4 separate regions of the Homo sapiens genome follow, and all the other regions are linked to region 4. The links are contacts of gene promoters, found by promoter capture Hi-C in human tissues and cell types (Jung and others, 2019). All regions are on one chromosome and are shown on one strand. The core of a region is centred on a gene start or on the middle of the fragment in contact, and the rest is flanking DNA. Distances in the headings are between cores, read along the strand shown.

What was found. Contacts are between HindIII fragments. The study calls those that stand out against the background at their distance.
Region 1: a fragment that was not itself captured here is called in contact with the fragment with the promoter of CATSPER3 in region 4 in 1 of the 25 tissues and cell types used here (mesenchymal stem cells).
Region 2: a fragment that was not itself captured here is called in contact with the fragment with the promoter of CATSPER3 in region 4 in 2 of the 25 tissues and cell types used here (mesenchymal stem cells and psoas muscle).
Region 3: a contact is called between a fragment that was not itself captured here and the fragment with the promoter of CATSPER3 in region 4, in 1 of the 25 tissues and cell types used here (IMR-90 fibroblasts).

What each region holds. Positions count from the first base shown.
Region 1 is chr5:134,914,825-134,921,432 of GRCh38, forward strand. The region is part of intron 2 of PCBD2 (pterin-4 alpha-carbinolamine dehydratase 2); the gene reads left to right. Among named protein-coding and RNA genes, the nearest start is that of PCBD2, 13 kb to the left of the region's middle. The HindIII fragment of the contact is 4,633 bases long and covers 2,505-6,608 here.
Region 2 is chr5:135,000,437-135,006,781 of GRCh38, forward strand. The region is part of intron 3 of CATSPER3 (cation channel sperm associated 3); the gene reads left to right. Among named protein-coding and RNA genes, the nearest start is that of PITX1-AS1, 30 kb to the right of the region's middle. The HindIII fragment of the contact is 5,962 bases long and covers 822-6,345 here.
Region 3 is chr5:135,019,288-135,025,866 of GRCh38, forward strand. No RefSeq gene overlaps it. Among named protein-coding and RNA genes, the nearest start is that of PITX1-AS1, 11 kb to the right of the region's middle. RefSeq lists an enhancer at 5,648-6,579 and a silencer at 5,808-6,267. The HindIII fragment of the contact is 6,135 bases long and covers 239-6,373 here.
Region 4 is chr5:134,965,917-134,973,003 of GRCh38, forward strand. It overlaps CATSPER3 (cation channel sperm associated 3), which reads left to right and starts at 1,991. Exons shown (of 8, transcript NM_178019.3): 1 at 1,991-2,173; 2 at 4,023-4,176. The coding sequence starts at 2,076. The HindIII fragment of the contact is 15,471 bases long and covers 1-6,342 here.

The sequences.
Region 1 (6,608 bases), core at 3,571-6,070, 48 kb before region 4:
TCATGCCCAGCTAATTTTTTGTATTTATAGTAGAGATGGGGTTTTGCCATGTTGGCCAGGCTGGTCTTGAATTCCTGACCTCAGGTGATCTGCCCGCCTCGGCCTACCAAAGTGTTGGGATTACAGGCATGAGCCACTGCACCCAGTTGACATCATCTTTTTGAAGGGAAATTGAGCAATGCCTATCAACTTTTAAAACTCACATACCAGAGCCGGGCGCGGTGGCTCACATCTGTAATCCCAGCACTTTGGGAAGCTGAGGTAGGTGGATCACGAAGTCAGGAGTTCGAGACCAGCCTGACCAACCTGGTGAAACCCTGTCTCTACCAAAAATACAAAAATTAACCAGGCGTGGTGGCGTGCGCCTGTAATCCCAGCTACTCAGGAGGCTGAGGGAGGAGAATCGCTTGAACCTGGGAGGCGGAGGTTGCAGTGAGCCGAGATCACACCATTTCACTCCAGCCTGGGTGACAAAGCGAGACTGTGTCTCAAAAAAAGAAAAAAAAGGACATATCCATTGTCCTAACCTAGAAATTTATCTTCTAAATATTGTTCTGCATGTATGCAAATAGGATGTATGGGGATGTCTATTAAAGCCTGATGGGCCTCTAATTTTTTTTTTTTTTTTTTTTTTTTTTTTGAGACAGGGTCTAATTCTGTTGCCCAGGCTGGAGTGCAGTGGTGTGGTCATGACTCACTGCAGCCTTGAACTCCCTGGGCTCAGGCGATCATCCCACCTCAGCCTCCTGAGTAGCTGGTACTACAGGTGTGTGCCACCATGCCTGGCTAATTTTTGAATTTTTTTTTGCAGAAAGGGGGTTTCTCCATGTTGCCCAGGCTGGTCTTGAACTCCTGGGCTCAAGTGATCCTCCTGCCTCAGCCTCTCAAAGTATTGGGGTTATAGGCATGAGCCGCTGCACCAGGCCTCTAATTTTTTATTGTGAGCAGCCATTTCCATGAGCATATGCACACCATGGTGAGAACATATCTCCCTTGCTGCAACCCTGCCCTCAGTGGGGTTTAAGGGAGGCCTGTTGTGCTCCATATACTCATAGCAATGGCAGCACCTCTCCTGGCCTGAGCTCTACAGACTGGACAAAGCCACAGTCAGAACTAAAGACACCCTCTCCCTGAAAGAGTGTGACCCACACTTGGTGGTGTCATATTGGAAAAAAATTTGGGGGCCAGGCACGATGGCTCACGCCTGTAATCCCAGAACTCTGGGAGGCCGAGTTGAGTGGGTTGCTTGAGCCAAGGAGTTTGAGGCTAGCCTGGGCAACACAAGGAGACTCCATCTCTACAAAAATAAAAATTAGCCAAGAGTGGTGGCATGCACCTGTGGTCTCAGTTACATGGGAGGGAGGCTAGGGTTGGAGAATCATTTGAACCCAGGAGGTAGAGGCTGCAGTGAGCTGTGATTGCACTACCACACTCCAGGCTGAGCGAAAGTGTGAGACTATCTCAAAAAAAAAATCTTTGCTGAATATAGGGTTAAAAAATTCATTTTGTTTGTATTGCTCAATAGGTTATGAGCATTTTTCAGTTCTTTAGTCTTTTTATTTTTAATACAATTTTCAGGAGTATGATTTTACTTGGTTGGGTGTCACAGTTAAATGATTTGCTAATGTAGTTTGTGTACAGTGGTATCACAAGTTTGCTTTAGTCTTCATTTCTTTTGCTGCTATGAAAAATGAACTATTTTGGAAATATTTCAGTGACCGTGGATGAAAAACCTATTTCTTGAAGCTTTGAGTTATTCCAGGTTTACTATAAGAATAAATAGCCCCCAAAACACATTTGAACTTCTTTTCTCTCAGAGTTTTATTCTAAGGTATGGTTAGTTCCAAATAATCCAAATTCATTGGATAGCTCAGATGGATACAAATACTTGGAGATTATAAGTACGGAGTTTTCAAGGGATTCTCCTAGCATAGGTGGATGAAGTAGCCATAGGTGTCAGTTGCTGTTAGCCTCCTGTTTCCACCCTTGGTGGTGGTACATGGGCTCTGCAGTGCGTCAATGGACAGTATGTTGGTGACAGACAGTGACTCTGTGAGCAGACAGAGCATGGCAGTGGTGGGACTCGAGGCAGGGAGTTTCCACACTAGGAGTGCTTGGACCCAGACAGGGTGGGATTGGCATTTGTAAAGGAACTTTGCTTTTTTGTTGTTCCTGTAGACAGAAGGTGGGAGAGGTCTGCAAGTGACATATAAACTTAGGTGTTTGGTAACTGCAGGATGTCTGTGTTGAAAGAACAAAATGTCAGGTAGAAATGTGGGTGTGAGAGTCCCATAAAGACAGATTTTGTTATGCATTGACATGTATGGGATGAACTGGAAGCTTACAAAATCCGAGGAGATTTTAAGTTTAAAAGTAGGTGCAGAAGGTGAGGCTTTGGAACCTAGGAAATAGCTACTACAGGTGCCAGCAGGTGGAGCCCTCCAGGGCAGGAGCCCAGCCGGGCCAGGCGGCAACACCCCTTTCTGCCCCCCAGAAGGCTGTCCCTGTTCTTTCACTTCTGAATACCTGGGGCTACCCTTGTTCAGCATGGAAATAAGCTCAGGATCAGGAACAGGTAAGCGGCAGTGGCTGGGCGCTTGGGTGAATGATAAATTTTGTGTGTAGGACATGAGGAGTTTCCAATGGTGATTCAGGAGGAAGGGACCAAGCTTTGTGAGAATCAGCGGTGGTTCTCTGCGGAGGAGCTCCTGGGCCCTGTCTGTGCTTTCTTCGGTGGGCCTGCCCAGCAGGGCATTCAGTCATATTGGATGGAATCATATGAGCTGGTTGATATTCAGGGCAAAGTCCAAGCTTTATTGGTTTTGTATCTTGTTCATCACCCTCACCTTTTGGTTGCTGTGCTGCTGCCACTGAAGCTTTCTGGAGCTGCAGCGGGAGGGAGGAGGAGTTCTCTGGGTGCCCAGGCTGGGTTGGTGGTGCTCTGCACATCCTAGCAGCAGTAGCACCATATGTGACTTTGGGGTTCGTAAAATGTTTCTTTTCCTGTGTCCACAGAGACTCCTGTGTAGAGCAGTTCAAAGTTACTTTTGCTGCCTTACTTTATAAAAATGTTTTATTGAGGAATTTGATAATAGGCTTATGGTGAACATTTTGAAACACTTAGTGAAGTCAAAGGCTTGATGATACCAGAAGAAAGACAACTGCTGATGAAAGTCTTAACAATCCTCCACAGAATATTGGTGGAAGTCTCGATAGCTCTCATTGTGAATGAATTAGTTTGGGTTTGATTGTTCTTTGTTGTGCACATCAAAGTTATGAGTGAGTAATGCATCTGTGCACTCTTTAAAGAGGATATTCTACCTGTGGAGGATAGGGAAGCACTCCCAAAGAGGATGCCTGTGGCCTGGGCATCATATAGGTTAGAAAATGTCATTTTGTGCTGGGCATGGTGGCTCACACCTGTAATCCCAGCACTTTGGGAGGCCGAAGCAGGCGGGTCACCAGAGGTCAGGAGTTCGACACCAGCCTGGCCAAAATGGCGAAACCCCTTCTCTACTAAAAATACAAAAATCAGCTGGGCGTGGTAGAAGGTGCCTGTAATACCAGCTACTTGGGAGGCTGAGGCAGGAGAATGGCTTGAACCCGGGAGGCGGAGGTTGCAGTGAGCAGAGATCACGGCACTGCACTCCAGCCTGGGCGACAGAGTACTCCATCTCAAAAAATAAAATAAAATAAAAATTAAAAAATGTCGTTTTGATTTGAAAGTATAAGCTAGTGTTTGTGTGTCTGGCACCAGGTAAAGTGAAAACTCGTATGGCTGTCACACACACTGTTGCATTTAACATGTGCTCATGATTGGCTTTGTAACCACAGCAGACTAGAAACCTGAGAAAGTGTTCATAGTTTTCATTGGAATAGAATAGAGACACTCATATTTTAGCAAACTTTACCTAAAGTGTGAGAAGCTAGTAAAAATATCTGTGTAGTGTTCATGTTGGTGTTCCCTTTGGAGTTCTTCCTGAGCAGGACCACGCTGATGCTCCCAGGAGGTGGCTAGAATGTCAGTGTTGGCGTCCACCAGGGTAGGGAAATAAGAGCCTGAAATGTTATCATTTGGAGCTTTGTTGCTGCTGATTGTGTCGTACAGTAGGTCTAGACCTGGCGTGTATTTGTAAAAGCGCATGCAACAGATAGATGAGGAGAAATGTAAAACAGGTGTCAACAATGCAAATATGACACCACACTGCAGTGTGAAAACACCATGGTCCTTACACCACCCTTTAATAAAAATGGACTTTTAACTGCATAATTTGCTCTTAGTCATGTAGTAAATCTTCTGTTTACAGAACTTAGCCTGAGTATTTTGTTAAAGTCAAGCAGCCAAGAAGTATAATTTCCTCAACAGTCTTTGTCTTGCCCTTTTACAGATGGAGTAAAATCAGGTGTGTAAAAAATAAAAAAGCAGTTTGAGCTGACGTGAAAGGTATTTCAGATTTATGCTTTGCAGATGATATTGGTATGATTAATGCATTCATTGCTTTTTTTTATTGCTTTTCACAGATAATGTACATGATGCATGGAAAATGTTGTGGGTTTAAATCTGTGCCAGGTTTAGACTGTGAATATCAACAGATGTTATCATATAAGTACCATAATTATTATAAAATAAAAAATTTGTCATGAAATGCAGTGACATAAATTTCATTTATGTAAATTGCTTTCATTAGTATAAAACCTTAGTGTAGCTGTTAGGGTCTGTGAAGCACTTTAGATGAGATTAACTTGGTATAAAGTGGTCACAAATGGGTTGCTTTAAATTTAACTGACAAGAAAATAACACCCAAAACTTAGGAAATTGCTGAGGCATTTGCCTGCATTGCTGGTACCGCTTAAATAGGTTGACTGTGAATTAATAACAATAGACTGCTGGCTCAATAATTGCAGAAAATAATTGAAAGGAGACCTTAAATAATAACTTAAAAGTATTTTGGTCTTGCTCATTTCTGTTCTGTTTCTGTTTTTCGTTAGTATGCCTGCCCACCGCTTCAGTACTGCCATTATCAATAGCTTTCGGGTTTGCACTGCAGTTTTGTCCATAGTTGTGGTGCTTTAGGGCCATGACACAGAACTTGCATTTAGATGTGTCAGAATACAAATATTGGGTGCCTGATGGAGCAGCTGTAGTGGCTGAGCAGTGCTGCACTCACATTCCTGTGGCTGGGTAGCGGCCAGTTGCTTTCTGCCCTCAGGAGGGATTCGGTCCAGCGGTGTGGGCAGGTGGCTGAGGTTCTTCTTCCTGGCTTTGAGCTCTCCATGTTTTGCTCTTTTTCTTACATCCTTTTAAACAAAACAAAGCAGTAATATTCTCTCCCCTGTGTTGCAGAGAATTACTATTATGTTGCGCTTTTGATCTAGGTTAGAGTGGGGCATTCTGACTCATTTACTGAATTTCGCAGAAAGACACTAAACAAGATTGAGATCATGGAATTACTTGTGGTCATACTGGGTCATGTCACAGTTACCAGATGCAAGACTCACATCCCTGGTTCCCACAGCAACATTTTTAGATCCTACTGTGACATAGAAAGGTTGTTTTTTTGATTTTGTTGTTTTAGGCGAGATCTTGTTTTCCAAGGACTACTTGCTGGATTAGTTTTCTCCCTTAAATGGGTTTTACCATACTTCCCAGAGGAAGGGAATATTCGCCAGCTGAAACAAACAAAGCTGTACTTGTTTGGGAGTAGCCCAGGTATCACTGTTGAGCAATCAAAGGTCATTTAATTGTATCATTAAAATCAATCCTATCAAAACAGCAAATGCTGCTAATGACTCTGTTTGCTTGTGTGCTCTCTGCCAACAGGGCAGGATGGAGGCTTTTTTTTTTTTTTGAGACGGAGTCTCGCTCTGTCGGCTAGGCTGGAGTGCAATGGTGTGATCTTGGCTCACTGCAACCTCCACCTCCTAGGTTCAAGCGATTCTCCCACCTCAGCCTCTCAAGTAGCTGGGATTAGAGGCACCTGCCACCAAGCCTGGCTAATTTTTTGTATTTTTAGTAGAGATGGTGTTTCACCAACATGGCCAACATGGCCAGGCTGTACTTGAACTCCTGAGCTCAAGTGATCCGCCCGCCTTGGCCTCCCAAAGTGTTGGGAATACAGGCGTTGAGCCCAGCTGCTGAGGCTTTTTGCTATATCATACATCAAACTGACTTCAAGTGCCCTGTCCTCGCCATCGCAGCCCTGTCGGTGGACATGCACCAGGTGGGTGGAGCAGCCCCAGGCTGGCTGGGCCAGGAGTCACATGGTGTGGTTCTGTCAGGATTCGTGAACCCAGCAGAGCTGTTGGGCTTATATCCACTGAGGGGCTAGTGCTGGTCTGGATCCAAGAGGTGGAAGGAGGAAGATGCAACAGAAGGACCTGGTTTCGTTTCTGCCCAGAAGATCTCCTAGTTTTGCTGGGGAGGTGGCACATCTGAATTGTACAAGGTGATTGATTTTTTTCAGCTTACCATGTTAGTCAGGTACTAGAATGTGAAGTGCTGTGCTAATAAGCCACAGGAGGTGCACTTCAGGGTGGCTGCTGCCTGGAGAAGGGGAGTTTTGAGTTGGTTCTTGAAGATCTGGTATGTGGTTGTAAGGGAAGGCACT
Region 2 (6,345 bases), core at 2,553-5,052, 36 kb after region 4:
AATGAGTTAGGGAGGATTCCCTCTTTTTCTATCAATTGGAATAGTTTCAGAAGGAATGGTACCAGCTCCTCCTTGTACCTCTGGTAGAATTTGGCTGTGAATCCATCTGGTCCTGGAGTTTTTTTGGTTGGTAGGCTATTAATTACTGCCTCAATTTCAGAGCCTGTTATTGGTCTATTCAGGGATTCAACTTCTTCCTGGTTTAGTCTTGGGAGGGTGTAGGTGTCCAGGAATTTATCCATTTCTTCTAGATTTTCTAGTTTATTTGTGTAGAGGTGTTCATAGTATTATCGGATGGTAGTTTGTATTTCTGTGGGATTGGTGGTGATAACCCCTTTATCATTTTTTATTGTGTCTATTTGATTCTTCTCTCTTTTCTTCTTTATTAGTCTTGCTAGTGGTCTATCAATTTTGTTGATCTTTTCAAAAAACCAGCTCCTGGATTCATTGATTTTTTTGAAGGGTTTCTTTTTGTCTCTCTATCTCCTTCAGTTCTTATCTGATCTTAGTTATTTCTTGCCTTCTGCTAGCTTTTGAATGTGTTTGCTCTTGCTTCTCTAGTTTTTTTAATTGTGATGTTAGGGTGTCAATTTTAGATCTTTCCTGCTTTCTCTTGTGGGCATTTAGAGCTATAAATTTCCCTGTACACACTGCTTTAAATGTGTCCCAGAGATTCTGGTATGCTGTGTCTTTGTTCTCCTTGTTTTCAAAGAACATCTTTATTTCTGCATTCATTTCGTTATGTAGTCATTCAGGAGCAGGTTATGTAGTCATTCAGGAGCAGGTTGTTCAGTTTCCATGTAGTTGAGCGGTTTTGAGTGAGTTTCTTAATCCTGAGTTCTAGTTTGATTGCACTGTGGTCTGAGAGACAGTTTGTTATAATTTCTGTTCTTTTACATTTGCTGAGGAGTGCTTTACTTCCAACTGTGTGGTCAATTTTGGAATAAGTGCGATGTGTTGCTGAGAAGAATGTATATTCTGTTGATTTTTGGTGGAGAGTTCTATAGATGTCTATTAGATCTGCTTGGCGCAGAGCTGAGTTCAATTCCTGGATATCCTTGTTAACTTTCTGTCTCATTGATCTGTCTAATATTGACAGTGGGGTGTTAAATATTGACAGTGGGGTGTTAAAGTCTCCCATTATTATTGTGTGGGAGTCTAAGTCTCTTTGTAGGTCTCTAAGGACTTGCTTTATGAATCTGGGTGCTCCTGTATTGGGTGCATATATATTTAGGATAGTTAGCTCTTCATGTTGAATTGATCCCTTTACCATTATGTAATGGCCTTCTTTGTCTCTTTTGATCTTTGTTGGTTTAAAGTCTGTTTTATCAGAGACTAGGATTGCAACCCCTGCCTTTTTTTGTTTTCCATTTGCTTGGTAGATTTTCCTCCATCCCTTTATTTTGAGCCTATGTGTGTCTCTGCACGTGAGATGGGTCTCCTGAATACAGCACACTGATGGGTCTTGACTCTTTATCCAATTTGCCAGTCTGTGTCTTTTAATTGGAGCATTGAGCCCATTTACATTTAAGGTTAATATTGTTATGTGTGAATTTGATCCTGTCATTATGATGTTAGCTGGTTATTTTGCTCGTTAGTTGATGCAGTTTCTTCCTAGCCTTGATGGTCTTTACAATTTGGCATGTTTTTGCAGTGGCTGTTACTGGTTGTTCCTTTCCATGTTTAGTGCTTCCTTCAGGAGCTCTTTTAGGGGAGGCCTGGTGGTGACAAAATCTCTCAGCATTTGCTTGTCTGTAAAGTATTTTATTTCTCCTTCACTTATGAAGCTTAGTTTGGCTGGATATGAAATTCTGGGTTGAAAATTCTTTTCTTTCAGAATGTTGAATATTGGCCCCCACTCTCTTCTGGCTTGTAGAATTTCTGCCGAGAGATCAGCTGTTAGTCTGATGGGCTTCCCTTTGTGGGTAACCCGACCTTTCTCTCTGGCTGCCCTTAACATTTTTTCCTTCATTTCAACTTTGGTGAATCTGACAATTATGAGTCTTGGAGTTGCTCTTCTCGAGGAGTATCTTTGTGGTGTTCTCTGTATTTCCTGAATTTGAGTGTTGGCCTGCCTTGCTAGGTTGGGGAAGTTCCCCTGGATAATATCCTGCAGAGTGTTTTCCAACTTGGTTCCATTCTCCCTGTCACTTTCAGGTACACCAATCAGACATAGGTTTGGTCTTTTCACATAGTCCCATATTTCTTGGAGGCTTTGTTCGTTTTACTCTTTTTTCTCTAAACTTCTCGCTTCATTTCATTCATTTGATCTTCAATCACTGATACCCTTTCTTCCAGTTGATTGAATCGGCTACTGAAGCTTGTGCATGCATCGCGTAGTTCTCGTACCATGGTTTTCAGCTCCGTCAGGTCATTTAAGGCCTTCTCTACACTGGTTATTCTAGTTAGCCATTTGTCTAATCTTTTTTCAAGGTTTTTAGCTTCTTTGTGATGGGTTCGAACATCCTCCTTTAGCTTGGAGAAGTTTGATCGTCTGAAGCCTTCTTCTCTCAACTCATCAAAGTCATTCTCCATCCAGCTTTGTTCCATTGCTGGTGAGGAGCTGCGTTCCTTTGGAGGGGGACAGGTGCTCTGATTTTTAGAATTTTCAGTTTTTCTGCTCTGGTTTCTCCCCATCTTTGTGGTTTTATCTACCTTTGGTCTTTGATGATGGTGACTTACAGATGGGGTTTTGGTGTGGATGTCCTTTCTGTTTGTTAGTTTTCCTTCTAACAGTCAGGACCCTCAGCTGCAGATCTGTTGGAGTTTGCTGGAGGTCCACTCCAGACCCTGTTTGCCTGGGTATCAGCAGTGGAGGCTGCAAAACAGCGAATATTGCATAACAGCAAAGGTTGCTGCCTGATTGTTTCTCTGGAAGCTTCATCTCAGAGGGGCACCCGGCCATGTGAGGTGTCAGTCTGCCCCTACTTGGGGGTGCTTCCCAGTTAGGCTACTCGGGGATCAGGGACCCACTTGAGGAGGCAGTCTGTCCATTCTGAGATCTCAAACTCCGTGCTGGGAGAACCACTGCTCTCTTCAAAGCTGTCAGACAGGGAAATTTAAGTCTGCAGAAGTTTCTGCTGCCTTTTGTTCAGCTATGCCCTGCCCTCAGAGGTGGAGTCTACAGAGGCAGGCAGGCCTCCTTGAGCTGCTGTGGGCTCCACTCAGTTTGAGCTTCCCAGCCGCTTTGTTTACCTACTCAAGCCTCAGCAATGGCAGGCGCCCATCCCGCAGCCTCGCTGCTGCCTTGCAGTTCAATCTCAGACTGCTGTGCTAGCAATAAGCAAGTCTCCGTGAGCATGGGACCCTCTTAGCCAGGTGCGGGATATTAATCTCCTGGTGTGCCATTTGCTAAGACTGTTGGAAAAGTGCAGTATTAGGTGGGAGTGACCCGATTTTCCAGGCGCCGTCTGTCACAGCTTCCCTTGGCTAGCAAAGGGAATTTCCTGATTCCTTGTGCTTCCTGGGTGAGGCGATGCCTCGCCCTGCTTCGGCTCTCACTCAGTGGGCTCCACCCACTGTCCTGCACCCGCTGTCCGACAAGCCCCAGTGAGATGAACTCAGTACCTCAGTTGGAAATGCAGAAATTACCCATCTTCTGCGTCACTCACACTGGGAGCTATAGACTGGAGTTGTTCTTATTCAGCCATCATCTCCTCCAGTATTTCGTCTTTTGGTAAAGAGGGGTCCCCCACCCGCATTCAGTTGCCAAGTCATAAATTTGACTGTCAGCTTAGACTCCTCTCTCAAGCTTTGTTGTGTGGCCTCCTCAGTGGTTATTGACTTGTCCACATCTCTTCATTCCTGTCACCATCAGCCTCACCTGGATTCCTGCATTGGCGTCCCACACTACTGGGAGCCCTGGAACAGAAATGCCCGTGTGGGGTGGGGAGGATCTTGAAAGTGCACATCCAATCATAGCATCCTAGGTTTCAAGCCTGAGGGTGGCTCCCCATTTTCAGGCTACAGACAGACCTTGCAGTGTGTCCTAAGAGGAAGGGAGTATGTAAGGTGCTGGGCACTGGAGTCAGCAGGGATGAGAGGAAGGCAGGTGGACGGGAAAGAAGACTGGAGGCCCGAGGTGTTCATGGTCAGATGGGCACCCCAGAGTGAGGGCGGGATCTGGCAGTGGGAAGTGTAATCTGGTTTTTCCAGGTGTTGGGCACCAAGGGAGCAGGGGCCAGGAGTGGCACCAGGGTCACTAGAGAGGGAAGTCCAGGGGTGAAGAGGCCTGGCATCTTCCATAAAGATGTGGAAGGTCCCCAGGCTGACAGCAGGGTTGCCTGGAGAAGGAGGTACTGAGTCTGGAGGCAGAGACTTCAAGACATGAGGGAGAGGGGGAAGCTGGAAGGTTGGCCCTGCCCAAAAGCAGGGTCTGTGCCTGTGAAAACAGGGGATCCCAGGATAAGGTAGATGGTGGCCCCCTGAATCTGAGGGCTGTCGGGGATAGGCAGCCTTCTTGGAGAGGGGAACTGGGTTGTGATGTCCTCTGCTGAGAGAGGACTTTCAGGTGAGGCCAGGAGAGAGGAACTGTGGAATGAGGGTGCCAGAGACCAGTGGGAATCATGCGAGGAACAGGGCGGAGGGCAGGGGGCTGAGGAAAAGGAGACCCAGGACCACACAGGGAGGAGGGAAGCAAAAAGGACTGGTGGCAGGGAGGGCTTCCATCTTGGAAGAAAGGGGCATTGACCCAGACTGGCACCTCAAGGCTGGGGGCACTTGCTGCTGGCTTAGTGCACCGTCTTGGCTGTATTGTGGCAGCCTGATTAGAAGGCAAAGGCTCCTGCTGGCCAAGGGCTGTATCCCAGAGCAAGCCGGCCTGCTTGGGGACTGCTCAGCCTTTGGCCCTTGCAGGCATGCACAGAGACCCTGGGCATGCAGAGGCAACAGGCACACACGCATGCACCACAGGTTTGGCCTCATGGTTTTTCTGTCATTAAGCAGGGCCTTGCATCCTAGAGTGATTCCCTGGGGATCACCAGCCACCCTGAGCTGTGGCTCTCCTGTAGCCTTGGGATGTCATGGGACCCTAGATCCCCAGAGGCACAGAAGTGACCCTGGATAACATGCCCTCTGAATGTTGGCTGGCCTGCTGGCCATGGGGAGCTGGACCTGCCCATGGTCGGGACTTGTACCTCTGGGCTAATTTCTATTAATTGAAGTCTAAAGGAATCCTTAAATAAAGAGCTACAATCTCAGAGCCCAGAGATGGCGCTCTGGCGCATTCTTGGCTCCTGACCCCTGATTAATTAAAATGACACTCTGCCTTCTACCTATGACAATGAACCTGCACCATGAGGAAATGCTGTTTTGCACAGAGATGCACAAATGTTCATCAGCATTTCAGCCGGAAGCAACCTTCAGATGCTGGGCTGTGATGTGAGCATTAGTCCCCCTTCCTCCCTGCCTCCTCCTCCTGGGGCCAGATCATCTTCCACACATCCAATGGGCTGTGTAGGAGGGGTCCCTCCAAGCACTGGGCCTGGGCACCTGCCTTGCCTGGAGCTCCTTTCCACATCCAGAATGCCCCAGGGCTGTGGCTTGATCCAGAGCCCGGGAGAGCTGAACTGGGTACAGGGAATTGCCCCCCCAAAAGAATTTGGGAATTCAAAATCACACATCCAATGGGGGCCAGACCATGGGCCTCAAAACTTAGAACTTCCTCAGGAGGGAGCTACTGGCCTAAGGGGAACTGGGCAACCCTCTCCTAGGACTGGATTTCCGCACCTTTCTGGACTGCACCCTAAGAGGGCCTGCGTGGATTGTGCTTAAAGAACTTGGCCAACTCTAGCTGTCATGGGTCCTTTATGGGGCTCCCAGGAGAGCGTGTCTGTTCCTCCACTGCTGCTCTAAAGGTTGCTCAGCTTGGACCTCAGGTGGCACCAGCTTGTGGGCTGGCCTGGAGGTGGGAGGCCCAACCAGGCCTCTCCGCAACCCTTCTGCACAGGCTTTGGATTCTACCACCCAGTGTTCCTCCCTTCCCACTCAAAACCTGATCTGCAGACCATATCTCATCACAGCTTTTCTCATGAGGATTTACTGCTTTCATCTTAGTCCTTGGGAAAGAAGTTCTGCCTCTGTTTAGTTGGGAGGAAGGCATTAAGAAAAAAAAAATATCGGCTGGGCGCCGTGGCTCACACCTGTAATCCCAGCACTTTGGGAGGCCAAGGTGGGTGGATCACGAGGTCGGGAGATCGAGACCATCCTGGCTAACACGTGAAACCTCATCTCTACTAAAAATACAAAAAAAAATTAGCCGGGCGCAGTGGCGGGCACCTGTAGTCCCAGCTACTTGGGAGGCTGAGGCAGGAGAATGGCATGAACCCGGGAGGCAGAGCTTGCAGT
Region 3 (6,579 bases), core at 2,056-4,555, 55 kb after region 4:
TGTGGCAGTGAATGAGTGGTGGTGCTGTGAGTTAAACCCAGGCTCTGCCTAACTCCAAAGTTCGTGCTCTTAACCTCCATGATCTTGTCTCTGGCCCTCATTTCCCCACCACACCCGGAGGTAGGCTGGGCTGGGTGGGCTGAGGCAGGGTCTTCCTAGGCCTTGCTGGCCAGAGCAGGAGGCTGGTGAAAGCCCAGGACTTAAGGGACTTCAGAGGGGGACGTGGTTCCCTCTCACCCAAGGGGGAGCTCTTGACCTGCTGGAGGATCTGGGGCAGTGTAGCATCCCTGCTGGGGGCTTGGAAGTGCCACTACCCCCAAGGAAGCAAAGCAAGAGGCTTCCCTGGGGAACCTGTCTGGAGGGGAGGGAGGTTGGACATGTTGGTCAAGAAAGAGCGTCTTCACTCAGAAATCCTCCAGCAGTACGAGGTCAGTGAGATGAAAATGAGTAATTTTGTGCTTCTGAAGCAACAACCTACTTGACAGCAATATTTAATGGTCATATCCAGGGTCTTTTCAAACCCTGACAGGAAATCCCAAGAGGTAGGCAGGTGGGGCCAATGCCCGCTTGACAGAGGGTTACTGGGGTTCTGTGAGGTGACATCATGCCCTGGGAAGAGCCCAGCTCACGGGCTAGGATTTGGGCTTCTGGACTCCCCGAGGGGATCGTGCCCTCCTCCAGGCCCCTCCACCAGCCTGGGCTCAGTGGATATCCCTGCCTGGAGGGGCTGGGTGAGTCTCTGTGAGCCTGGGGGGCTGGGTGGGCTTCAGTTGCCCCACTGTGGGCTCTGGACTGTGGGAGAGTTGAGAGGCCTTGGTGGAGATAATGCCAAGCTTGGGAGAAGCCAGGGGTTCACCATGAATTGTGTGTGCCTGTACTCATTCCGGCCTTGGTGACAATAGGAATGCCAGCTTGGGGATGGAGGAAGGATCCTTGGCCACACCGTGCCTGGGGTGGGGTCTTTTGTGTAAGGGTATCCTTTATTGAGTTGCATTTACCCAGCGGGAGAGAGGTGTGCGTGTGTGTGTGTGCGCCTGTGTGGGCATGTGTGTGCACAAAGAGGCTGGAGTCTGGGTGGTGATGCGCATCCATCCCAGTGTGTCCTGGAAAGTTCCCAGATAGGCCACAGGAGGGAACGGTTTGGGGAAACCCTTGCTGGGCCCCGCCACAGCCTGGCAGGTGGTGAAGTGGCCAGCCACTTTGTGGCTACGATGCCTTAGAGAGTTTGCCAAGCACTTTCTGTGAAGTCATTGGGATGTTAAACCCTTGGTTCAATTAAATGGGTTAATAAGCATTGTCTGATTTTGATGAGGAATAATAATATAATGTGATAATAGCAATAATGGTGCTATTAGCTGCGATTATTACACGTGCTGCACTGTCCCAGGCATGGAGGGGGGGCGGCTTGCATTCCCGCATGCTCAGGCCGCATTTTCCACTCATAAAACCCCATTCTTCAAAGTCTTTCCAGCCCAACTCCCGATATCCATTTTCAGGACAAATTACCAACACTTAAAAAAAATTGGTCCATTTTGCGTGAAAGCCAAGTTCAAATTACTGTTACTTTCCCCTTTATGTTGGAAACTTAAAAAAGGATAGGGGTGGGAGCTGAGGGGGACACAGGGGACAGATACAGGAGGCGAGGCAGAGGAGGGGGAAAGAGAGAGAACGGTGTATGGATGAAGAAGAAAAAAGCGAGCCTTCTTGTTTCAGTAAAAATGTATTTCTGGAATGATGTTTCAGTTTACTCAGGCAGAAAAATTAGAAATGGTGTGCTTATTAAACAGGCTAAGTAAGCATGACTATTTTTAGTAGTGTAGTAAAACCTTGGTAATTTGGACCTCTTTAATAAAGATTCCATGATCATGGTGGCTGGCAGGCACACACTGTGTGTGTGTGTGTTGTGTGTGTGTCAGGGCAAGGTAGGGGTGCAGATCGGTTGCTGAGTTGGAGGCTGGGGAGCGGGGAGGGTGCAAGAAGGGACGGAAGGAAAAGGGAAGGACTCCCTCTTAGGAGAACCTGCTTCAAACACTGAACTCTTTTGCTTAGTAATCAAAGATCGTTATAAATTCTTCTCACTGAACACTTTTATTGGCACCTACTAGTATGACATCTGTTCAAAGAAGAATGTATTTGAAAACAAAAGTTTCATTTCTGTAAAAATCTGTAAAAGTTTACTTGATAGCTGTCATACTGGCCTCCCTCAAATGAGGCTGCATCCCAGGTAGGTGATGACTGGCACCTCAGTGGGAGGACAGGGGCAGTGGGCGGAAGGCTATTCCCTGTCCTGCGGGTCACAGGGTTTTGTATTTTTAAAATAATCATTATTTTATTTCATCATTGCAAAACTGATACATTGTCAGTGCAAAAAGACCTTGAAAGGAACAAATTTAAAAAATGCTCATTTTCCCCGTCAGAGGTAGGTGTTATTAACACTTTGTACATATCCATAAATTTCTCTGTGCATATATAAGAACAAAAATGGCACTGTGCTTAAGACTGTTTTGTTACTTGCCTTGTTTAGCTTTTTTGACAGAGAAGCTCGGTTAAGAAAAAGGGCAATAGTGAATCTATATTTAATTTTATGCCAAACTTACAAAGAAAAGTCATGCATCCCGGGTTGCTCTTTCTTGGCCACATAGTAGACGCTAGATAAAGGAAGTGTCCTTAATGGGGTCCCACTGCTATGCTGCATAGAAAGATGAAGAGTCAGGATGAGGGCCATGCAAGGGGTCAGCTATTGTTGGGGCCTCCAAGGGGCTGCTGGTCGAAGAGGATTCTAGGGAAAGGTTTGCCAAACAGTGAACACAGCCCCTGGGAGTCCTGGGAACCAGCCTCTAAATGCCTCTCTGGGTAACGAAGGGCATAAACACAGATATACTTTTGGAATAAAATTGAGGTAAAAATATACATAACATAAAATTTACCACTTTAACCTTTTAAGCTGTACAGTTCAATGGCATTAAGTACATTCACATTGTTATGCAACCATCACCACCATCCATCTCCAGAGCTTTTTCATCCTTCCTGAGACTCTGTACCCATTAAACAGTAGCTCCCCTTTTCCCATCCCTCAGCCCTTGGCAGCCACCATTCTATTTTCTATGATTTCACCTCTTCTAGGAACTTCATGTAAGTGTAATCACAATCTTTGTCCTTTCGTGACTGGCTTATTTCACTTATCACAATGTATTCAAGGTTCATCCATGTTGTAGTTGTGTCAGAATTTACTTTTTAAGGCTGAATAATATTCCACCATATGTATACACCACATTTTGTTTATCCATTCATCTGCTGATGGGCACTGGGGTTGCTACCACTTTTTGGCTATTGCGATAAACATGTTTTAGCTACTGCTGTGAACGTGGGTATGCAAATATCTCTCTGAGCCTCTGCTTTCATTTATTTTTGAGTATATACCCAGAAGAGAACTTACTGATCATATGGTAATTCCATGTTTAATTTTTTTGAGGAATCATCATACTGTTATTTTTTTGTTGTTGCTGTTTGTTTGTTTGTTTTTGACAGACTCTCACTCTGTTGCCCAGGCTGGAGTGCAGTGGCATGATCTTGGCTCACTGCAACCTCCAACTCCTGGGTTCAAGCGATTCTCCTGCCTCAGCCTCCTGAGTAGCTGGGACTACAAGCATGTGCCACCATGCCCAGCTAATTTTTTTGTAGTTTTAGTAGAGACAGGGTTTCACCATGTTGGTCAGGCTGGTCTCAAACTCCTGACCTCAAATGATCTGCCCACCCTGGCCTCCCAAAGTGTTGGGATTACAGGCGTGAGCCACCGCGCCTGGTCCATCGTACTGTTTTCTGTAGTGGCTGTTCCATTTTACATTCCCAGAAGCAATGCACAAGGGTCCCAATTTCTCCGCATCCTTGCCAACACTTGTTATTTTCTTTTTTGATAATAGTCATCCTGATGGGTGTGAGGCGCTATCTCATTGTGGTTTTGATTTGCATTTTCCTAATAACTAGCAATGTTGAGCCTCTTTTCATGTGCTTATTGGTCATTTGTATATCTTGTTTGGAGAAATGTCTATTCAAGCCCTTTGCCCATTTTTGAATTTGTTTTTTTTATTGTTCAGAAACACTTTTAAAAGCGGTGCCAAGAGCTGCCTGTGCTGAAAAGGAGTGAGCGAGTGAGTGGCAGAAGGGAAGATGCAAGAGAGAGGACACAAAGGAGTGCAGAGAGGGGGAAAGGGTCAAGATTTGTTTTGTGGAATGTGGGGGTGAGGGAGGGCCTTCCCTCAATTCTTTTTTTTTTTTTTTTCTTTTTTAGATGGCGTCTTGCACTGTCGCCCAGGCTGGAGTGCAGTGGCACTATCTTGGCTCACTGCAAGCTCCGCATCCCGGGTTCACGCCATTCTCCTGCCTCAGCCTGCTGAGTAGCTGGGACTACAGGCACCTGTGACCACACCCAGCTAATATTTTTTTTTTGTATTTTTAGTAGAGACGGAGTTTCACCGTGTTAGCCAGAATGGTCTCGATCTCCTGACCTCGTGATCCACCCGCCTCAGCCTCCTAAAGTGCCTCAATTCTTTTATTCAACAAATATTTATTGAGCATCTACTATGTGCAGACACTTCTGAGGGGTTGCTGTCTATACCTGTTTGACTCAGTTCACCATGCTGGCTGTCTGACTACACTGATCCTGTTCAGCTGCCAGGGCCAGCCTCTGGGAGGCAGTGCTTATAGTCACAGCCCATTGACTCTGCAGTCAGGCTAGGGATTGAGTCCCTAAAGTGGTGTGGTACAGCTTAGGACAGGTTACATGACCTCTTTGAGCTCCCCATTTCCCATTTATAAAATGAAGCTAATAAGAGAAATGAAACATGTCAAGTGCAGTGGGGGACAGCACAGAGTGAGACATATGCCTCAGCCAGCCACAGCAGCTTTCATCCCCTGTGAGGGCCAGCCTGCCCTCTGCCTCCTCCCTGCTCCACAAGCAGCTTCCTGCACCCTGACCTGCTCCTCAGCAGTGGTCTGATTCATGGAATTGCAGCCCCTCCAGCCAGGGCTCCAGTGGCCCTCTCTCGTGAGTGCTCTGCAGCTGCTTGACAGGTAGAGGTAGACACCTGCCCTGGGCAGTACCAGCCAGTCAGGAGGCAGGACCCAGGAACCTGCAAAAGCAACGTGGGAGTGTGAAGAGTGGGGTTCCCCTGATGGGAGAGGCAAGGAGGCAGGGACCAGCAGGGGCTGGGGGGGTGGCCTCAGGGTTGGGGGGGGTCTCCCCATCTCGGAAACAGGAAACTTGTAATCCGGACTGACGTGGGAGCTTGGATTTTGTGATTGAGAATTCAGGGCCCTTTCTTCACCAAAAAGCTGCTCTGTGCCTCTGTCTGCCCCTACCCCAGGGCTTCCTCTGTCCCTGATACCTGTACGCTTTGCTGCTGTCACATAGCCCGGAGCTTAGGAGGGCAAATCCTAGGGCCTGGGGCCTTTTCAGTCTCAGTCCTGGAGCCCAGCTGAGTCTAGCTTCTTGAAGAGAATTCTAATTTTTTATTTCCTTTCCCTCCTGAATACAAATGTGATTCATGTAAGGGTAATGTACAGCACAGTGGGTGCGAGCGCAGGCCCTGGTCAGAGGGTCTGAGTTCAGGTGCTGCCTCTACCCCTCATTAGCTGCCTGTGCCATGTTGGGCAAGTTACTGATTCCCTTTGAGCTTCAGTTTCTTCCCGTGAAAAATAAGGATAACAAATCCCTCCCTCATGAAATTGCTCTGAGGAGCTTGCTGGGGCCTGGCGCTCAGGAAGAGCCTGCTGTTAGCTACTCATAACATGATATGCAAACAAAAAGAAGTGTCCAGGCATCCTTGCCCCATGGTGCTGGGCGCCCCCAGAAGAGCATGCTGGGGTGAGTACCCCTGCTTCGCCCCCTGCCCCGCGTCCTGTCCCTGCTCATCTCTTAGGGTATTGACTGGGCTCTGCCTCTCCCCAGAGGCCAGGTAGGTGGCAGGAATTGGGTCTGGTTCCTCTCCCAGGGCCTGGCCCACAAAAGATTGGTGGGGAGATTGTACCACAGGACAATAGGCTGGGTGATCGAGGGCCCAGAATCTAGGATAGTTCCTGGGGTGGGGTGGGGGTGTGGCCAGGAAGACTGTCAATCATGACTCATATTCAGGACACCCTGCAGAGGTGGGGACGGAAAGCTGAGCTGGGAAAATCCCAAATGACGTCTAAAGTGACCTGTTGAGAAATTTTGACAGGTAAGTCCTAATAATGCAGAAAGCGGGGAATAGGACCTCAAGAGGAGAACCAGGGCATTTCACTTTAATAAAAGAATAGCAATACCAGCCTCACAGGGCTGCGTGCAGGTAAAGGGGCTCATGAATGAGGAGTGTACACTTAGCTTGGGGCTTGGGGCCTTGTGTTGGTTCAGTCAGCATTGGAGCTTGGTACTGAACATAGGGATGGAGCCACCTCCCCAGAAGGGCCTTGCCTGACCACCTGGTTTAAAGTGAGACCCCCTTTACTCTCACAGCATCCTGTTGTTTTTCAGCCTAGGTTGTAATTACACACGTCTATTTACTTGTCCAGCAGAGCGGGGGCTGCGTCTGTTTCCACTGCTCC
Region 4 (7,087 bases), core at 741-3,240:
CATTATTTTGTATATTCATACGGCACACACTTACTGAGGGCCTTCTGTGTGCCCTAGGGGATTGAGCACAGTGACATATCAGGGCAGGTAGAAACAGATGGAGAGCTGATGCGGGCTGTCTTAGAGCAGCTGCCCCAGGAGGCCCCTGTGGATGGATGTTGGGCAGGAGCCCTGAGACGTTAGGGGCATATAACTAAAGGACATAGCAGGAGTTATAGGAGGAGCTGATCCCTGAGGGAAACAATGAAGACGGAGAAGATGGGGCTAAAGTTTGAATTGTGGGGACATTAATCACAGTGATTCTTAAAACTTTGCTGTTGATGATTTTAAATGGAGAAAATGAGTACGTAAGATGTTATTTCCCAGTTCAGTATATTGGTTGCCCACAAAGTATTTTCCTACCATGAATGGTCATATATACTTGTTGTAGAATACCAGGGACAGCAGAGATGGTGGGGTAGTTACTTCCTTTTCTTACAGCCCAAGAACTTTGGTGTCCAGGAGATTGACCAATTTAGCCACTGAGCATTTAATACAACACAGGGCTACCCAGATCCCACTGTCCTGATTTGCCCTGAAAGCCAAAGGAGTTAGGAGAAGGTGAGTGGGGAGAATATATTAATCCTGAGAGTTGAACAGAGCAAAAATCCCTATTACTTTTGTACTTAAAACATCTCTGCCACATGTGCTCACTCTTTATATTCTGTTTAGGTGGTTTATATGTGCACATCCCATCCTATGCCTGCAGTTAGCCAACTCAGGGTTTATATTGCCTCCTTTCTTTTTTTCTTTTTTTTTTTTTTTTTAAGAGATGGGGTCTCATTCTATCATGCAGACTGGAGTGCAGTGGTGTGATCACAGCTCATTGTAACCTCCAACGCCTGGACTAAAGTGATCCTCCTACCTTGGCCTCTCTGGTAGCTGGGACTACAGGTGCATGCCACCACACCCACCTAATTTTTTTTATTTTTATTTTTTGTAGAGACAGTCTCACTATCTTGCTCAGGCTAGTCCTGAACTCCTGGGCTCAAGTTATCTTGCTGCCTCAGCCTCCCATGGGTAATTTTTATTTCCTTTTTTTTTTTTTTTGGAGATGGAGTTTCGCTCTTGTCGCCCAGGCTGGAGTGCAATGGCACGATCTTGGCTCACTGCAGTCTCCACCTCCTGGGTTCAAGTGATTCTCCATCCTCAGCCTCCTGAGTAGCTGAGATTACAGGCAACTGCCACCATGCGCGGCTAATTTATGTATTTTTTTTTAGTAAGAGATGGGGTTTCACCATGTTGGCCAGACTAGTCTTAAACTCCTGACCTCAAGCGACCTGCCTGCCTTGGCCTCCCAAAGTGCTGGGATTACAGGCATGAGCCGCTATGCCTCGTCGCTGATTTTTATTTCTTATTTTTTTTTTAGAGATGGGGGTCTCACTATGTTGCTCAGGCTGATCTCAAACTCCTGGCCTCAAGTGATCCTCCCACCTTAGCCTCCCAAGTTGCTGGGATTATAAGTGTGAGCCACTATCCCTACCTCACTATTACCTTCTTTGCTTCTCTTGTTTTCTTTTGTTCTAAGTCAAACCCATCACAATCTTTTCTTGTCCTTCCAGGTGTTTTCCAGTGCTGTGCCCTGGATGTGCTCTCTTTCTCTTAGAGCCCAGAGAACTTGCTTTTCCCCCTTATATATGACCCTTAACTTTTTCTAACACATTATTAAGGGCCTGTGTCTATCAGCTGGGGGCACTTCTTGAAGGGAGGGCCTTTGTGTGGTCTGTTTCTAGTGACTTCCAGCTTTAACCCAGAGCCTCATGATTGCTGGGTGCCCATAGCCTTTTTGCTGAATGGAGGCACTCAGTCTCCTTGGGAAGAGAGAATCCATGATAGACCCACTTGGGAGCTCCCCACTTCAGGGGCCTACACACTGGTAATGCAACAGAATGCCCAAGAGTGACCTCATAAAGCAAGGATTCCCTTCGTGGCCCCTTCTCTGCTGCCTCTCAGAATCCAGACGCTAAGGAAAATCCCTAAGCAGAGATTTTCTGTTGGATGCTAAAAGCAAGGAATAAAAGTTGAAAATTTGGAAAATGTCTCAACACCGTCACCAGCGCCACTCGAGAGTCATTTCTAGTTCACCAGTTGACACTACATCGGTGGGATTTTGCCCAACATTCAAGAAATTTAAGTAAATATTATCTATCTCCATTGCCTGTTAAGAAATGTGCTAGTAGAAGTGTGAGGGCAGGGTGTCAGTGTTCTCTCAGCCTCTTCCCTCAGATACTCGTCTGCTTACCAAAATAAGTTGCATGTCCTTGACAATCTGGTTTCTATGATTGGTGAGGCTGGCATGCTATTACCTTTATGTGCCCTGTAGACTTGAATGACCAGTTTGACCAGTTTGACTGTTAGATAATCTGAAGGCTTTTCTCTTTTTTTATAATAGACCCCATCTCAAATCAGATAATGAAAATTACATATCTTGATATATTAGAAAAGTATATACATTCTGGCTGGGCACGGTGGCTCACACCTGTAATCCCTGCACTTTGAGAGGCTGGGGCGGATCACTTGAGGTCAGGAGTTTGAGACCAGCCTGGCCAACGTGGCGAAACCCCATCTCTACTAAAAATACACAGATTAGCCCGGAGTGATGGTGTGCACCTGTTGTCCCAGCTACTCAGGATGCTGAGGCAGGAGAATCCCTTTAACCTGGGGGGCGAAGGTTGCAGTGAGCCAAGATTGCACCACTGCACTCCAGCCTGGGTGACAGAACGAGACTCTGTCTCAGAAAAAAAAAAAAAGAAAAGGAAAAAGAAAAATATATATTCTATATTTTTTTAACTTATGAGAATGTGTTCATTTCATTTGTAACATATAATGGGAAACAGTAATACGTACTCTGAGAAAAATTGCAAAGCACAGATAAATGGAAATAAACAGGAAAAAGAATCACCTATAACCTCACCATCCATAGACAGACACTGTTAAAATTTTGGCATATTTCCTGCTGATTTTTTCTACTGCTGATTTTTGCACAGGTGAGATAATTTTGAACAGAGAATTTTGTATCTTTGGTTTTTGTGTTTTGCTGCACACAAAAACAAAAGATATAAAAATGGATCATAAACATTTTTCTAAATCCTGAAAAATGCATAGACATATTTTAGTGCCTGTATTTCACAAGATGGACATACCATAATTTACTTACACAGTCCTTTTTGTTAGATGTTTAAGTTGTTTTCAAGCTTCTCAGTGCTGGAAAAAATACTGAGATAGACATGTTTAGTTGAAGTTATTTCATTTCAGGTTATATTATCTTGGGTCAGAGAATGAATGGTTCTCAGGCTTTTCAAAAGAGCTGGTCAGTTTTTATGCCTCTGGCAGTTTTTGAGAGTGCTCAATCATACTACACTGTTGCCAGCATTAGATCTTATCACATTTAAGTCATTGCTAATTTTATAAACAAAAACAATGGTTTTACTTTGCATCTCCCTGATTGGTATTGCTGTAGAACATATTTGGAGAAGTTTGTTTGTCTTTGGTGTTTATTTCATGAATAGATTGTGTGCCCATTTTCTCTTGGGGTATTCAGTTTTTTATTACTGATGTGAGCATGTGTATGGGTGATTATTTGATGATTATCAGTTTTGCTTAGTAGACTGGCAATATTTAGTCTTGCTGTCACTGTGTTCCCAGTGCCTACTAGATTGCTTGATATGTAGTTGCCACTCAATAAAGATTTGTTGAGTCAATGAAGATGACACTTTGTTTTGCTGGAGAAGGAGTGGTGACCATTCTTTTTCAGAGGTCCAGGGAGAGGGAGCTAAGTAACTGAGTGAGGACAGAGTATCCATGATCATCATATATATGTCAGTGGTCATTTATTCAACATCTCATTGCTATTTAAAAGTATATGTAAATTTATATTCACACAAGGGAGAAAGCAGAGCCTTGTCCCTACAAAAAGGTATGCATTTTATGGGGATCTAGCTCTATTGTGCTGTAACCATACTTCACATTCAACTTTTTGACAGGAGGAACGATGATGAATGTCGGGCATTTGTGAAGAGAGTCATAATGAGCCGTTTCTTTAAGATAATTATGATTAGCACTGTCACATCGAATGCGTTTTTTATGGCCTTGTGGACCAGTTATGACATAAGGTACCGCTTGTTCAGACTTCTTGAGGTAAGCAGACAAAATGGGTCCATTTTCTTCTTTTTTTAAAACATGCTTTATTTCTGGAAACATTATAAGATTTTTTTTTTTTTCCGAGACAGAATCTCACTCTGTCAGGCTGGAGTGCAGTGGCGTGATCTCAGCTCACTGCAACCTCCATCTCCACCTCCCAGGTTCAAGCGATTCCTCTGCCTTAGCCTCCTGAATAGCTGGGATTATAGGCACCCGCCACCACGCCCAGCTAATTTTGTATTTTTAGTAGAGACGGGGTTTCACCTTCTTGGCCAGGATGGTCTTGATCTCTTGACCTCGTGATCCACCCGCCTCAGCCTCCCAAAATGCTGGGATTACAGGCGTTAGCCACCATGCCCAGCCCATTATAAGATTTTAAGGGTATTTTGCTTCAAGAAATTTTCTGTAGAATTCTAAAAATACTCTAAAATCTGGGAAGAGGGTGGCAAGAGCAGCAGTGGTGACATGGTGGATTTTTTTTTTTTTTTTTTTTTGAGACAGAGTCTCGCCCTGTTGCCCAACCTGCAGTGCAATGGTGCTATCTTGGCTCACTGCAACCTCTGCCTCCCAGGTACAAGTGATTCTCCTGCCTCAGCCGACTGAGTAGCTGGGATCACAGGCACACACCATCATGCTTGGGTAATTTTTGTGTTTTTAGTAGAGATAGGGTCTTGCCATGTTGGCCAGGATGGTCTTGAACTCCTGACCTCAAGTGAGCTGCCTGCGTCGGGCTCCCAAAGTGCTGGCATTACGGGCATGAGCCATCGCGCCTGGCCAGTGACATGGTTTTTAAGTCTCCTTGAATCTCCTCTCAAAAACTGAGCAAGCCTGGGCAACAAAGTGGGACTCCTATCTCTCTTTTTTTTTGTTTTGAGACGAAGTCTCGCTCTGTCACCCAGGCTGGAGTGCAGTGGCGCAATCTCGGCTCACTGCAAGCTCCACCTCCTGGGTTCACGCCATTCTCCTGCCTCAGCCTCCCGAGTAGCTGGGATTACAGGCGCCCGCCACAACGCCCGGCTAATTTTTTGTATGTTTAGTAGAGATGGGGTTTCACCGTGTTAGCCAGGATGGTCTCAATCTCCTGACCTCGTGATCCGCCCTCCTCGGCCTCCCAGAGTGCAGGTATTACAGACGTTAGCCACTGTGCCCGGCCCCTCCCATCTCTATTAAAAAAAAAAAGTTGGGCATGGTGGTGCATACCTTGAGTCCCAGCTACTCTAGAGGTTTAGGTGGGAGAATTGCTTGAGCCTGGGAGTTCGAGGCTGCAGTGAGCTGTGATTGCACCACTGCACTCTGGCCTGGGCAACAGAGTGAGACCTTGTCCTAAACAACCAACCAAAAAAACCAGAGCAACTAGGTAGCAAAGCCAAGAACCCACAGGCAGCATTTACAACAAAACTGGTTAGTTTCCTTACTACAAGCCGTAAGAACTGAATAGTATGTCTCTGTGGGGAAAGAAACAGAGGGAAGCCATTATTTATTTATTAGAAAGTGTGATGGGCTGATGTGAGAACAGCATTTGATATCAGTAACAGTATTGTCTAATCCAATACTGGGCTAGATCAAGAGGTTCCTGGTAATTTTTGAAGGGGCTAGAGGAGCAGATGGTGTGAACTTTCAAAGCTGACCAGCTAGAGGTCTTTTTAAAGACAGGATCCCACAGTTGGGATAAATACTGGAAATGGAATAAAAATTGAGCAGGTTAGAGACATAGAGATGAAGGAAGAGAAGGTTCAGATAAAATTGGAGGAGGAACCAGGATACCTCAAAAATCAAGCTACTGCGTTTTTAAACACAACACAAAAGCAGAAGAATGAGCTCAGTGAGGTTAGAACCACACCATCTTCTAAAAGCTCAAGAAAACAAATTTTATGTAAAACAGCACAATAGAAAAAGATTGATGCTGCTATAGTTGTGTTTTTAGAAAAAAAAGGGTTGAGATAAAGTCTCATACACAATTACTGTAAGAAAAAAGAGAATGAGGTAGAGAATAATCCCCTTATACAGGCTGAGCATCCCGAATTTGAAAATCTGGAACCTGGAATGCTCCAAAATACAAAATATTCTGAGCACTGACGTGACACTCAAAGGAAATGCTTACTGGAGCATTTTGGATTTTGGATTTTCAGATGTGGGTTGCTCAACTGGTAAAGAAAATGCAAATATTCCGAAATCCAAAAACTTTGAAATCCAAAACACTTCTGTTCCCAAGCATTTCAGATAAGAGATACTTAACCCGTAGATAATGAAAGCCCACCACAAAGACATGCCCACAAAACAGGGAGAGACTGTAGCATATGACTTTAAAACAAGCCAGATGTTTAAGAAAGTGATACAAGATAGGAAAGAACAGAAGTGAAAAGACAAAACTCAGGAAAGAACTAGAAATAAAAATTTCAAAAATAAAGACTAAAATAGACTAAGCAATTAATTGCAACAGATAATAGCTTAAGAGAAGTATAGGATTAAATGTAGGAAATTTTTTAAATCAATAAGAAATGAAGACATGAAAAGGTTTCAAGAGAAAATGATGAACATCGAAGATGGGGAAAAAAAAATCCAGTGTAATGACAATAGGAGCCCCTGAATTTGAAATAAAACAGACACAAAGCAAAGGAACAGAACAAATGCTAAAGTGTATAATCCAAGAAAAGTTACCTGAAACAAAAGATTTGGAACTATACGTTGAAAGAGCACACATTGCATACCTGAGAATATGGAGTTTGAACAATAAACACCAAAACATATTCTAGTAAAATTATTGGATTTTAAAGGAAAGAGGGGGTGAAGGAAACTAAGTATCAATGCAATGTGGCTTATAAGAAGATAATCACTTATCATCAAACTTTGCTATGGTAATATGTTATGCCAAAAGAAAATAGAGTTACATATTTAAGATACTTCAGCA